Regions from separate parts of the Homo sapiens genome. Here all the other regions are linked to region 2. Evidence: promoter capture Hi-C in 16 types of primary human blood cells and fetal thymus (Javierre and others, 2016). All regions are on one chromosome and are shown on one strand. The core of a region is centred on a gene start or on the middle of the fragment in contact, and the rest is flanking DNA. Distances in the headings are between cores, read along the strand shown. Region 1 holds the start of ABRAXAS1 (abraxas 1, BRCA1 A complex subunit). Region 2 holds the start of USO1 (USO1 vesicle transport factor). Region 3 overlaps HNRNPD (heterogeneous nuclear ribonucleoprotein D).

Region 1 (4,145 bases), core at 210-2,709, 7.8 Mb after region 2:
AATCACGCGGGGGGATATCCAGAATCTAGTGTTCTTGATTTTGATACTCAAAAGACGAACTCAGGGAAGGGAAGCAGGGGGGCAATGCAAGTGCAACTAGCCAGAAAAACCACCCTTTAAAGACTTCAGGAAAAAGATCTGAGAAACAGGGGCCTCCCTAGCACTCAGGTACTTCCCAAGGGCTAATCGTTTAAGCTACCGAGGATTTACGGTCCCACTCTATCTACACTACAGGTATTCCAAAATAATTTCCACAGCTACACATATATTTTAAATGGTCATATATTTGTTCTTTATTAGGTATTACTTTGTAAGGTTATCTGAAATTGTATACATAAAACATACCAATTCCAACCTTTATTAGGATTGTGCCAAAGAGCAATTTTGTAATGTTTAGATTTTGTAGAGACCGGGTCTCACTACGTTGTCCCCGATGGTCTCGAACTCGTGGGCTCAGGTGATTCACCCGCCTCGGCTTCCCAAAGGGCTGGAATTACAGGCGTGAGCCACCGCGCCCGACCTATATTAAGGCAATTTTGAGTAAAATAGACGTTATATCTTAAAATGAACTTAGCAGAAATTACTAGGCATTGTTCAGCAGGGTATTCTCCGAACTGTACCACACAGCAGGGAAGTGTATTTCAGATGCTTAGACTTTCTTTCTGCAAGTTACTGAAAGTGCTACAGGACATTAACTACTTCCGAGCTCAACGTTTTACAGCGTTTCTTTAATTTCATAGAACTTTTAGAAAATAGGCAACGTACTTTTAAAAACTGTTTTAACAAATTTAATAACGCAAATAAAAAGATATCTGATATACCAGATTAAGCTGTTCCATCCACTAAGATTTGCCACTGGACGCAACATCTATTTTTATTCCCTTACCATCCTACCATCGCAACAAACACGCACAGACGCTGCTCTGCATGAAAAAGTCCGCCTGGTTTTGCAAACGCCTGTCGGGCGTCGCGAGAAACGGAAAGTTTACCGCAGGCTCCGCAGAGCAGCGGAAAGACGCTCCGTGAACTTTCCATCTTTTCACGCCCAAGTTTCCACAGCTACAGGGGCGCCGAGGAAAGATGGGAGCGTGTGGGACACTTGGGTCGGAAAAGGGAAATAACGGAGGATAGCAGAGGGAGGGCTAATGCTGGAGAAGACTTCGTGGGCACGAGGCACCTCAGGGACCGCTGAGGGGGAGAGAAGGCAGAGCCGCGACCGCAGGGAGGAGGCGCGGCGGCGTCGGGGGAGCGGGCGGGGACCGGAGCAACAGCGGGGAGGCAGGCCGCGCGCAGGGCTCTTCCCAGGCGACGCCGGACCCCGCCCCGTCCCTCGGCTCACCGTGTCCGAGTCCGTGTTGAGGTGCTGGAAAGCGAGTGCGCCGAGCACAAAGCCCGAGAGCACCGCCGACGTACTCTCCCCCTCCATGCTACCGCCGCCTCAGGCTACACAAGAGGACGAGGGCGGGGCGCGCGGAGGCAAGACCCTGTGGTGGCAGCGAGGCGGGGCCCAGCGAGGAGGCGGGGCCTGCGCCGGCGCACGGGCTGCTGCGCGCTCCGCAGAGGGGCGGGGCGAGGGGGCTGAGGGCGGGCGCGGGCGGGTCCCCAGCCGCGCGCTCGGCTCCTCCTTCGCTTCTGCTGCCGGCCTCTCCCGGAAGGCCGCTGCATGTCGGTACCACTGCAGAGGGCTGCGAATTGCTTTTGGTGGCCTGCGCCTGCTGAGCGACCTGTCACAAACATGCAAAGCTATCAAAATGAACACGGTTGACAGGGTCATTTTAAGACAAGCAATGATTACAAGAATAAAAGAGTTGAGTAGCAACATTACGATGCCACAGTGGATATGCCACGGTTTTGGTTTTCAAGCTGCATTTTAGCACCCTTCACTCACTGAAACTTACAGAATACTAATAACCATTTGGGGATTGTCTTTGCTAGAACTCTCTAGCCATGTTCTGTGTCTGTGTGTTTGTGTGTGTGCATGTGTGTGTTCCCTTGCTTTTAGAAAACTTCAGCCTAATTTAAACAATACATGGATATTTAATGTTCTGACAGTTTAATGATAGGCATAATCATAGTAAGCTGGTTCATTTAATGTAAATGGTAAGGTGAGTGGACCAGGGCTTGGCAAATGTATTTTACACACACACACACACACACACACACGTAAAGGTATGTTTCTTAAATGACTGAAAGTAAGCATAATAGCAGACTACTGAATTAGTGTGGCACATTTGTGGGTTTTGTTGTCAAGCAGTTGTCTGTGGCTGCGTAACACACAATACATATGTATATAATTAATGATTATATATTTATTCCCTAGAATTAAGTTTCTTGCCTTCATTTTGTAGGGGTGAAGGGAAAGCTCTGCCCTCTGAAGGTTCACTGGAGTGAACTAACAAAAGAAAAGATGAACAGAAGGAAAAGGGATACGAATTTATTTTATTTTTTATTTTTTTGAGACTGAGTCTCGCTTGGTCACCCAGGCCAGAGTGCAGTGGCACCATCTCAGCTCACTGCAGCCTCCACTTCCCGGGTTCAAGCGATTCTTCTGCCTCAGCCTCCTGAGTAGCTGGGATTACAGGCACGTGCCACCAAGCCCGGCTTATTTATTTATTTTTTTTGTATTTTTATTAGAGACAAGGTTTCACCATGTTGGCCAGGCTGGTTTCGAACTCCTGACCTCGGGTGATCTGCCCCCTTCGGCCTCCCAAAGTGCTGGGATTACAGGCGCTCCCGACTGGCATACAAATTTATTAATGTGCCCTGGAGAAAATCACAGTAGAGTGATTACCCAATAATCCAATGAGGTTCAGATGCTTATGTACACTTTTTCATAAGGGAGAGGGAGATGGAGGAATGTAAGTAATTTTGAGGATCACAATTGATTCTTTGGATGAGCTTGAGGGATTGCTTGCAAAGAATTCTTTGTGGAAGTTGGATGAGCCCAAACAGCAGTCAATAACTTAGTACAAAGTTCCTCTGGGCTCTAGATTTGATGTTTGACTTTCAGTCTTCTTTCCACAGTCAGTAGATAATGAAATTTCAATGAAGGGGTGGAAGACAATTGTCGTAGGGTTGATAAAGAGTGGACAGTCGTGCAGGAGTATGATTACACAAAGGGAGTATGATGTAATGGTAACAAACTGGGGGAACTTAGAATGGGCTGTTTGTTCAGGTTCTTCTCTGTGTCCTGGTGTCTTCAGAGGTAAGGATATTCCTTTTCTCTATGTAAAGGGAGGGTACCTCTCAAATGATGGTCTTATGACCTACTTCAGGGAAGGACACCGGGTTTTATGGCCTGCCTCAAGGGAGATGGCCAGAGTATTCTTTCTATGGTTTATGGCCTGCTTCAGGGCAAAAGGAGTGAGGGGAAGGTGCAAATGACCTCTTTGCTCTGCTATTTTCTCAAATGCTCAGGTGCTATATTTTGGAGTAGTGTGTCCTGAACCACATCACTAGTTTTACTTCCTGCAACCCAGAGCAGCACAGTAGCTGAACCAAATACTCCTTCGGAAGCCAAAAAAGCTTGGGTATGAGTGGAGATAAGGAGAAATAGTAGATGAGAGTAAAGGAATAAATAAACGGGTTATATAATGAGGGAAATCCAATATTCATTAAGACCTCCAAAGAAACTCAAAGCAAGGGATGATATTGTCTCTTATCTTAATTATATCAGATGCCTGAAATAATGAAGATATATATTGCTAAGAACTCTGCTTTTGAAACCTGAAAAGATCAAATGGAAGCCTGAGTGGCCACACCCTGGGAGGCATTTTCTTTTCTTTTTCTTTTTTTTTTTTTTTTGAGACGGAGTCTCGCTCTGTCTCCCAGGCAGGAGTGCAGTGGCATGATCTTGGCTCACTGGAAGCTCCACCTCCTGGGTTCACGCCATTCTCCTGCCTCAGCCTCCTGAGTAGCTGGGATTACAGGCGTCCGCCACCACGCCCGGCTAATTTTTTGTATTTTTAGTAGAGACAGGGTTTCACCGTGTTAGCCAGGATGGTCTTGATCCCCTGACCTTGTGATCCACCCACCTCGGCCTCCCAAAGTGCTGGGATTACAGGCGTGAGCCACCGCGCCCGGCCTGGCATTTTCATATGATAGGCTGATGGACTGGACAGGTTATTAGTAATTGAATGGGGTTT
Region 2 (4,057 bases), core at 388-2,887:
GCAACAGAGATATAAAATGAATAACATAGTCCTGCCCTTAACAGTTTGGTTTAGCAAGCATTTATTCAATGTACACCATATACAGTATCAATAACTGCAAAGTGCTAACATATAGATGTGTACCTACATTTTAGGGAAAGCTTTCAAGAATGATGTCAGAGTTGAGCCTTAAGGAATTAGCAGGAGTTTGCTTGATGAAGAGAAAGGAAGGGAAGGGCATATCCAGGTCTGAGAAAAATGCCCAGAGTATGTGGGGGAGGCAGGAGCTGAAAAAGTAGGCAGGAGCTAAATCATAACAGGCCTGTATGACAAACTAAGGAGTTTGCACTTTATTCTGGACAGAATGGGGAACAACTGGAGGATTTTAAGAGGAATGACATGAACAGATGTTTTGTTGTTGTTAGTCTCACCCAAGGATGGACTGGAGATTGGACTGGAAGGAAGCCAGGGCTGAATGCAGACAAACTAATTAGGAGGCTGTTGCTGTCATCTCAATGAGAAATGATGAGAAGAACATAATCTATGTCACAGGCACAGAGGATGGAGAGCAGAACACCTATTTGAGAAATATTCTATAAATAGAAATGATAGGACATGACTATTGATTGGACATGTGTGGGTGGAAAGCCAGAGTCTAAGATTCTTCCCAGCTTCCTCTGTCTAGCTTAGGCAATTATTTGGACAGTGGTACTACTGAGCACGGCACGCACACAGTAGAAGCAGCATATTGACTTTTTTTCTTTAAGGGAGGCAGGGAAAGATGACGAGTTCAATTTTAAATGCTGAATCTGAGACCTGTGGGGAATCCAAGGGGAGAGGTGCATGAGTCAGTTAGCTAACTAGACCTGTGCTTTTTAGCCTCAAGAAATTTACAAGACTATTCCAGAAGCATGTGTACTGACAACCTCACTGCCAAAGGAACAGGCATACCAATTAGAGAAAATGACAATTTTTCATGTTAAAAAAAAAAAAACTGAAAACACAGGGGTTGAGAGTTAATAACGAAACATTATGTTACTCGCCAAACTGACACAGCAGAACAATGTATTTCTCTAGTAAGCTAAATGTAGGGTTTGATGGGTTTCCTCCTGACGACACTTGAAAATAGAGGTGTACCTGGTGTTTAGATCTAGGAATTCCTTTCAGCAGGTTTGAAGAGCAAGAGCTGAGAAATGCGCCCTCCAGTGGCAGTGGAATGAGGGGTGTCTAGTAACCCTTTTTACCACCAAACAAAGCCCTGTAAAGAAATGCAATTTACCGGGATCAGAAAGCCACAATGCTGGTACCAGTAAACCGTCAAACCAAGCGAACCCTCTCAGGCGCCAGGAAGCCTTACCTGTCACGTTGGCCAAAGGAAAATTTCACTTTCGACTCAACAAAATAAGACCTCAGATTTGATAGCTTGCAGTAAGTCCCGCTTGGCGACGATTAAACACCCTGCAAGTCGAAACGCGTAGTCTAATCAAATCCTCTCCAGCCTGCAGGGCCGGGCTTCCACCACGTGGGTGGCTGCGGCCAGCAGGATCAATCCGCGAAGGGTGGGGGTAGGAGGCGTGCCCCTGCGGTGGGAGGCGGGGTCTGCGCAGTGGGTGGGGCTTCGGCGGAACCTAGCTAAGAGGTTCCTCTCGCCTCCGCTCCCCTTTTGCCTTCAACCTTCGAGCCGCCACGTAATGCCACGTCCCCGCGCATGCGCATCTTGGCCGCTGCTGGCGGCTGTTTCCGGGCTTAGAGGGCTGGAGTGGCCGCCGAGTTGGAGGCGGTGGTGGCAGCAGTAGGAGTGTGTAGAGTGCGGGATTGGGGCCCAGGCCCTGCGGAGGGCGGGGGAAGTTGTCTTCTTTTTTTTCCGGAGGGGCCGGTAAACCTGGTGGCTGAACGGCAAGATGAATTTCCTCCGCGGGGTAATGGGGGGTCAGAGTGCCGGACCCCAGCACACAGAAGCCGAGACGGTGAGAGGAGCAGCGGGTCTGGGACTTGGGAAGGGGTCCGGGCAGGGACGGGGACGGAGCACTCGGAGACCCGAAGGTCACCTCCAGCGTCCCACCATGGAGGGGGCATCCACATGCCGCCTCCCCCTTTGCCCTCCTTCCGCTCCTGAAATCCCAGAGTTATTCAATCACGCCCCCAGCTCAGTCCCCATTGCTGCCGTTCGGCCGGACTGACGGCGGCCGCGCCCCGCAGCTCTGTAGGCCCTGAAGCTCGGGCTAGGAGAGTGGTCCGCAGGTGGTACCGCACGGGAAGGGACGGATGCGCGGCCGAGCTGGCCCGAACTGCCTCCCACGCCCCTCGGGGCCGTGGGCCCCTCCCTCTTTCTCTTTCGCTCGTCTGCACTGGCCGAGAGGAGCCTGAAGTCCTGCTCCCTCCCTCGCAGTCTGAAACTGGGGCGTTGGGGAAAACTGCGAGAAGGTTTAAAACCCAGCTGTTGGTGAGAGCATTTGGCTAAGAATAAAACGATATTCTTTGAAGGACAAATCCACCTGCTCCTGTCCCATCAACTGGAAGAGCGGTCGTTCTGCCTGGTGTTATTTGTTCAGATCCGGCTTTTCGGGCTCACCCAAATATATATCATTTGGCAAATGCTACCTTGAACGTAGTAGGGATCTTAAGCGCTCAAACTGCTTTGGGGACACGTCCACCGCTTTCTGCCTGAACTCCTAATGACATGATTTGCGGCGTTATTTAAAAAAAAAAAAAAATGGTTAGCCGCTGAAAACATTATTTAATAGTTGCTTAGATTCTAGGTTTAGAATACACTTATTTTGAAGTTTGGTTAGTGTTTAATGGAATCGAGGGTGTATGCCTTTTTGAAATAAACTTTTTATTTGAGAAGAATTTTAGATCTACATAAAAGAGACTAAGTATAACACTTTAATGGCTAACTTTGTTAATGGGATCCTGAGGGATAATATAGTAGCTTTCATTTGTCAGGCTCTTACCTTGTGCTAGGTTCTGTGCTGAGCTCTTTATATTCCACATTATGCTTTAATCGTTAACTACCCTGCAAGATAGGTGAGAGTATTCTCACCTTAAAAGTCAAAAAATGAGACTGAGAGGGGTGAAGTAGGCCGGACGCGGTGGCTCACGCCTCTAATCCCAGCACTTTGGGAGGCTGAGGCCGGCGGATCACCTGAGGTCGGGAGTTCGAGACCAGCCTGACCAACATGGAGAAACCCCGTCTCTACTAAAAATACAGAATTAGCCGGCCGTGGTGGCACATGCCTGTAATCCCAGCCACTCGGAAGGCTGAGGCAGGAGAATCGCTTGAACTCGGGAGGCGGAGGTTACGGTGAGCAGAGATCGTGCCATTGCACTCTAGCCTGGGCAACAAGAGCGAAACTCTGTCTCAAAAAAAAAAAAAAAAAAAAGGGGTGAAGTAACTTGACCAATGTCACACTGCTAATAATAGAGCCAGGATTCAACCAAGAGGTACCTTACTTCAAAGCCTTCACTTTATTGCTCATGCCTGTATTTCAATACTTTTTGGGAACTTTATATAGTATTACTAAAATTAACTGCAGCTAGTCGCAGTGACACAGGCCTATAATCCCAGCTAAGGGGATGCTAAGCCAGGAGGATCGCTTGAGCCCAGGAGTTTGAGACTAGCCTGGGCAGCATGAAGAGACTCCATCTCAAAAAAAAAAAAAATAACTGCGCAGGTCTGGTTAGAATTGTTTAAAGCATAAGATGAAAGCCGGTAAATCTGTTTCTTTCATTTGAAAATCACTTTTCTGTCTCTCACTGTAACACACGCACACATTTGGCTTCACTCATCCATTCCCACTTGGCAACAAGGCAGCCTGAGCTACCCTACTAGAAGATCATGTTCTGTCTAGATTACCAGAGTCATACCATAATCACAGCCCACCACTTTTTTGTCTGATATTTGTGTTTGTGGCACCAGGTTATGAAATATGGTTTATTACAGCTTGCTTTGTGGAGTTAGACTTTGATTTGAATCCTGGCTTTCCACCCCTGATTGGATTGGATATGTAAGAGATAGCTAATACCCTCTAAGTAAAATGAGGAAAATGCCTGCTTTTTAGGATGTAATGAAGATTAA
Region 3 (4,167 bases), core at 308-2,807, 6.6 Mb after region 2:
TGACAGTTTAAAAAATACAACAGAATGTCAACCTGATATACATTTCAGGTATAAAACATAAATGACCAATCACTGTCATCTTTTAAAGTAATGTTACTCAAGCACACCATTAAATCCTTACTGAATTTTTCCAGTATTTTATCCATCATAATTATTCTTCTAAAATCCTAAAATGACAAACTAAAGCTAAGTCACTAGTTACCTAAGGGGAAGGGAGGAGGTTACAATGCAACTAGATAATATCACACGTTAGGGTATTTTACAAGTTGTATGAAAACTACCTTGGGAGAGAGCTTGACAAGCTTTCATCGAGTTCAAATACTAACCAGCCTTTTTAGATCTGATCTGGTATAAAATTCATGAAAACCACTTTTTTGAGACAGAGTCTCGCTCTATTGCCAGGCTGTGGTGCAATGGTGTGATCCTGGCTCACTTCAACCTCTGCCTCCCAAGTTCAAGCAATCTTCCCATCTCAAGCTCCTGGGTAGCTGAGACTATGGGTGCACACCACGAGGCCCAGCTAATTTTTTTTTTTTTTTTTTTTTTTTGTAGAGACAGGATCTCATCATGTTGCCCAGGCTGGTCTGGAACTCCTGGGTTCAATCTGCCCACCTCAGCCTCCCAAAGTGCTATATTACAAGCGTGAGCCACCGCACCCAGCCCACTTTTTTTAACTATTTAAAACTAATGAGACATTAAGGTTAGCCAATAACAAATCTTCCCCAAAAAACACTTTAGTCAATAAAAATATAAATTTTGGTATTATTTCCCCATCATTAAAGAATAGGTATTCCTCTCCCCCAGCTTTCTACAGATGACATTTTCAAGGTAAGTGTGAAAAAGAATTCCATTTATTCAAGACTAATATACAATGGACCAAACATTTTCAGAGACTTCTCTGTATTAAATCTCATTACTTCACACTTTAGAATGAACCTAACTAAATGACTACTAAAAAGCGAAGTTGAAAAAATAAACATCTAATAAATGAAACATGACAGTTTTTTTGGGAGGGGGACAGAGTCTCGCTTTGTCGCCCAGGCTGGAGTGCGGTGGCGCGATCTTGGCTCACTGCAACCTCTGCTTCCCGGGTTCAAGCTCTTCTCCTGCCTCAGCCTCCCAAGTAGATGGGACTACAGATGCCCACCATCATGCCCGGCTAATTTCTGTATTTTTAGTAGAGACAGGGTTTCAACATGTTGGCCAGGTTGGTCTCGAACTCCTGACCTCAGGTGATTCGCTTGCGTCAGCCTCCCAAAGTGCTGGGATGACAGGCATAAGCCACCGCGCCCGGCCAACATGACAGTTTTTTAAATAAACTTTTTTTTTCTTTTTTTGAGACGGAGTCTTGCTCTGTTGCCCAAGCTGGAATGCAGTGGTGCAACCTTGTCTCACTGCAACCTCCGCCTCCAGGGTTCAAGTGATTCTCCCGCCTCAGCCTCCTGAGTGACTACAGGCGCATGTAACCACACCTGGCTAATTTTTGTATTTTTAGTAGAGCTGGGGTTTCGCCATGTTGGCCAGGCTGGTCTCCAATTCCTGACCTTAGGTGATCCACCCATCTTGGCCTCCCAAAGTGCTGAGATTACAGGTGTGAGCCACTACGCCTGGCCTAAAAATAAAACACTTTAAGAGACCAGGTCTCACTATCAAAATGCAGTGGCTCCATCATAGCTTCCTGCAGCCCTGAGCTCCTTCCTGGGCTCAACACATTCTCCTGCCTCTGCCTCCTGAGTAGATGTAACTACAACTACAAACACACCCCCCAACACACTAGCCTTTTTTTTTTTTTTTTTTTTAAAGAAACAGGGGTCATATTATGTTGCCTAGCTGGTCTAGAAATCCTGGCATGAAATGATCCTCATACCTCAAGACTTCTGAGTAGCCAGTGATTACAGGCACGAGCCACTACTTTAATTAACTTTAAATGCTTAATCCAATACCTCCTTTTCACTTCACTACAAGGAAGCAATGACATCTTGTATGTTTACGTTTTAAATAAGCTCTCAATCAGCTTTGTAAGGTAAACTCCCATTTACCTAGAGGTTAAGGAATAGGTATTTTCCTTAACCTGAAGGTTAAGGTTCTGGTTAACTGAGATTACTACATATTCACAATTCTATAAAACTGTGTACTGGAAATCAATTTAGGTATCAATGCTGAAGTCAGAAAATGATTTGTACCTTGATGAATTTTCCAACGTTTTAAAATCATGTTACTTTTCAAAAGTGTAAGGAAAAATCTGTAGGAGATTCATTCCATGACATTGTCTGTTGGTTGCTTTTTGAGTATATTTTCTCATGGCTTCATCTATCTTGCTCATAAGACTAAATGGGGAGACAGACTTCCTGGCTGTGTGGGCTCTGTGGTAGTCTGAAGTCTAGATAAGCAGGAGTTTACAGTGCAAGACCCAATACTTAAACTGTCACCTTGATTACTGGCCAAGCACCACCAGTAAATTGGAGTCTTCCCTCCCCACCCCCAAATATTCTTAAATACCTAGCTCCAACGTACAATATAATACTCCAGAAACTAAAACATGCTTACCTTTACTCCACAGGAGTAAATCACTGGCAGTATCAACTATTAGGGCACTGGATAAATACACACAAGCTATGAAAGCAGGCTATGTAGTCAATCCTCCTGTGGTGAGCATTGTTTCCAACACATAGATCAGCAAACCAAGTAACAAACATGTCGTATTACCTGAAACCACACTGTTGGAAGTGAAGCAACAGAAAGAGATCCCACGCTTTCAGCATCCAGTTCAGTGCCCTATCTACTAAAACGTTGAAGCAGAACTGAAGTCAAATCAAGCTTGGACTAACATAAGTTATGTTTCACCCATTTGTAAATGTGCACACACTTGAGGTACACAGCTTCCAAGTGGAATGGGAAAAAAAATTACTCTATTCCTTTTTAAATGCTTTCAAGCATGGTATGTATTATGACTTGAAGGCTAAAACTAATCACATCCTTCACGTTGGCATAAATAGTATACTCAATATGTATACTCAAATGTATACTCAATAGTATACTCAAAATGTTCTCGTATTAGGGCAGCCTTACCCTAATATTATGTATTAGGACGATAGCAGAGTACCCAGGAAATATTAAAAACATACACTGAGTTTGTAGAAAGGGTCACATGGCTTAAGGGAAAAAACCCCAGATTTAAGGCAAAGTATGTGTATCTCAAAAACAAGCACTGAAAAACTTCAATGACATTCTCCCAATTCCAAACTTAAAAAACGAGATTATTTTTAGTATCTTTCATAATAGATGAAAATTTACAGTGAGAAGTATTTAATACTCTTCGCTTAAATGTTCATCTAAAGATCTGGGGACATCAATTTCTGGAATTTTTAACTCGGGAAATTTGTCAAAGGCTCCCAAGAATGCTAACACTGAGACCAATCTACGCAGGGTCTCAACTTTACTACATACAGTAAACCCAACTGTACTGAATCAAAGGCCAGTAAATTTGGCATGAGACTACTCTAAAAGAAATTATTTTACAAAGCAAACAATGTTCAGATTGCCCCAGAAGCACTAAGGTATAAGACCATAATCTCAAACATTTAAAGCAAAAACATGAGCCTAGTCTTTTATAATCAGACAGGCAACAACCTACAGCAGGATTCACAGAATTCCCAAATGGGAAGAATCACACTTGGGCTCATTATACACTAACCATTAACAGGACAATATCTACTGTCCTGTTATTAAAGAAGCATTGCTGGACTTTGGCTAAGTGAATGGGGGGACTTTTTTGCTTCCTACCCAATCCAATGCAGGAAAGTCTATGTACCTACCTTGTAAAACTATCTCAAAGTTAACACAACATTGTAGTTTCCATTGATTTTTAAACTTTAAAAACTCTGCCCTCAGAGAGCTTGCTACATGGCATGTATATTTTGCCAGACACTAAATAATTTTAAAGTACCTACCCCAAATGAACTGCAGCACTGCAGAGAACAGAATGGGTCCACACCACAAAGTAAAATGAGAAATTCCAATGCTTATAAGTAAAAACTACGGATGTTAATGTGGGAAAGAGTAAATCAAAGTGAACTCAGGAGGGCATACTATGGAAATAATTACTTATTCTAAAGTCCCATAGTAAACTGTAGAAACATCCACTAGAGGTGTAACAGGCATGCCTTC

What was found. Contacts are between HindIII fragments. The CHiCAGO score rates a contact against its expected background, and 5 or more counts as called.
Region 1: a contact is called between a fragment that was not itself captured here and the fragment with the promoter of USO1 in region 2, in 1 of 17 cell types (non-activated CD4 T cells). The highest score is 5.2, in non-activated CD4 T cells.
Region 3: a contact is called between a fragment that was not itself captured here and the fragment with the promoter of USO1 in region 2, in 1 of 17 cell types (neutrophils). The highest score is 5.4, in neutrophils.

Annotation. Positions count from the first base shown.
Region 1 is chr4:83,483,647-83,487,791 of GRCh38, forward strand. ABRAXAS1 (abraxas 1, BRCA1 A complex subunit) reads right to left here and starts at 1,454. Exons shown (of 9, transcript NM_139076.3): 1 at 1,340-1,454. The coding sequence starts at 1,426. RefSeq lists a silencer at 1,180-1,669. The HindIII fragment of the contact is 4,128 bases long and covers 1-3,523 here.
Region 2 is chr4:75,722,940-75,726,996 of GRCh38, forward strand. USO1 (USO1 vesicle transport factor) reads left to right here and starts at 1,638. Exons shown (of 24, transcript NM_003715.4): 1 at 1,638-1,946. The coding sequence starts at 1,881. It also overlaps a transcript of G3BP2 not described here. RefSeq lists enhancers at 828-1,748, 1,749-2,668, 1,765-1,844 and silencers at 1,425-1,594, 1,929-2,106. The HindIII fragment of the contact is 5,085 bases long and covers 139-4,057 here.
Region 3 is chr4:82,365,248-82,369,414 of GRCh38, forward strand. All of the region lies in intron 2 of HNRNPD (heterogeneous nuclear ribonucleoprotein D), which reads right to left. Among named protein-coding and RNA genes, the nearest start is that of HNRNPD, 6.7 kb to the right of the region's middle. RefSeq lists an enhancer at 623-1,294. The HindIII fragment of the contact is 2,515 bases long and covers 301-2,815 here.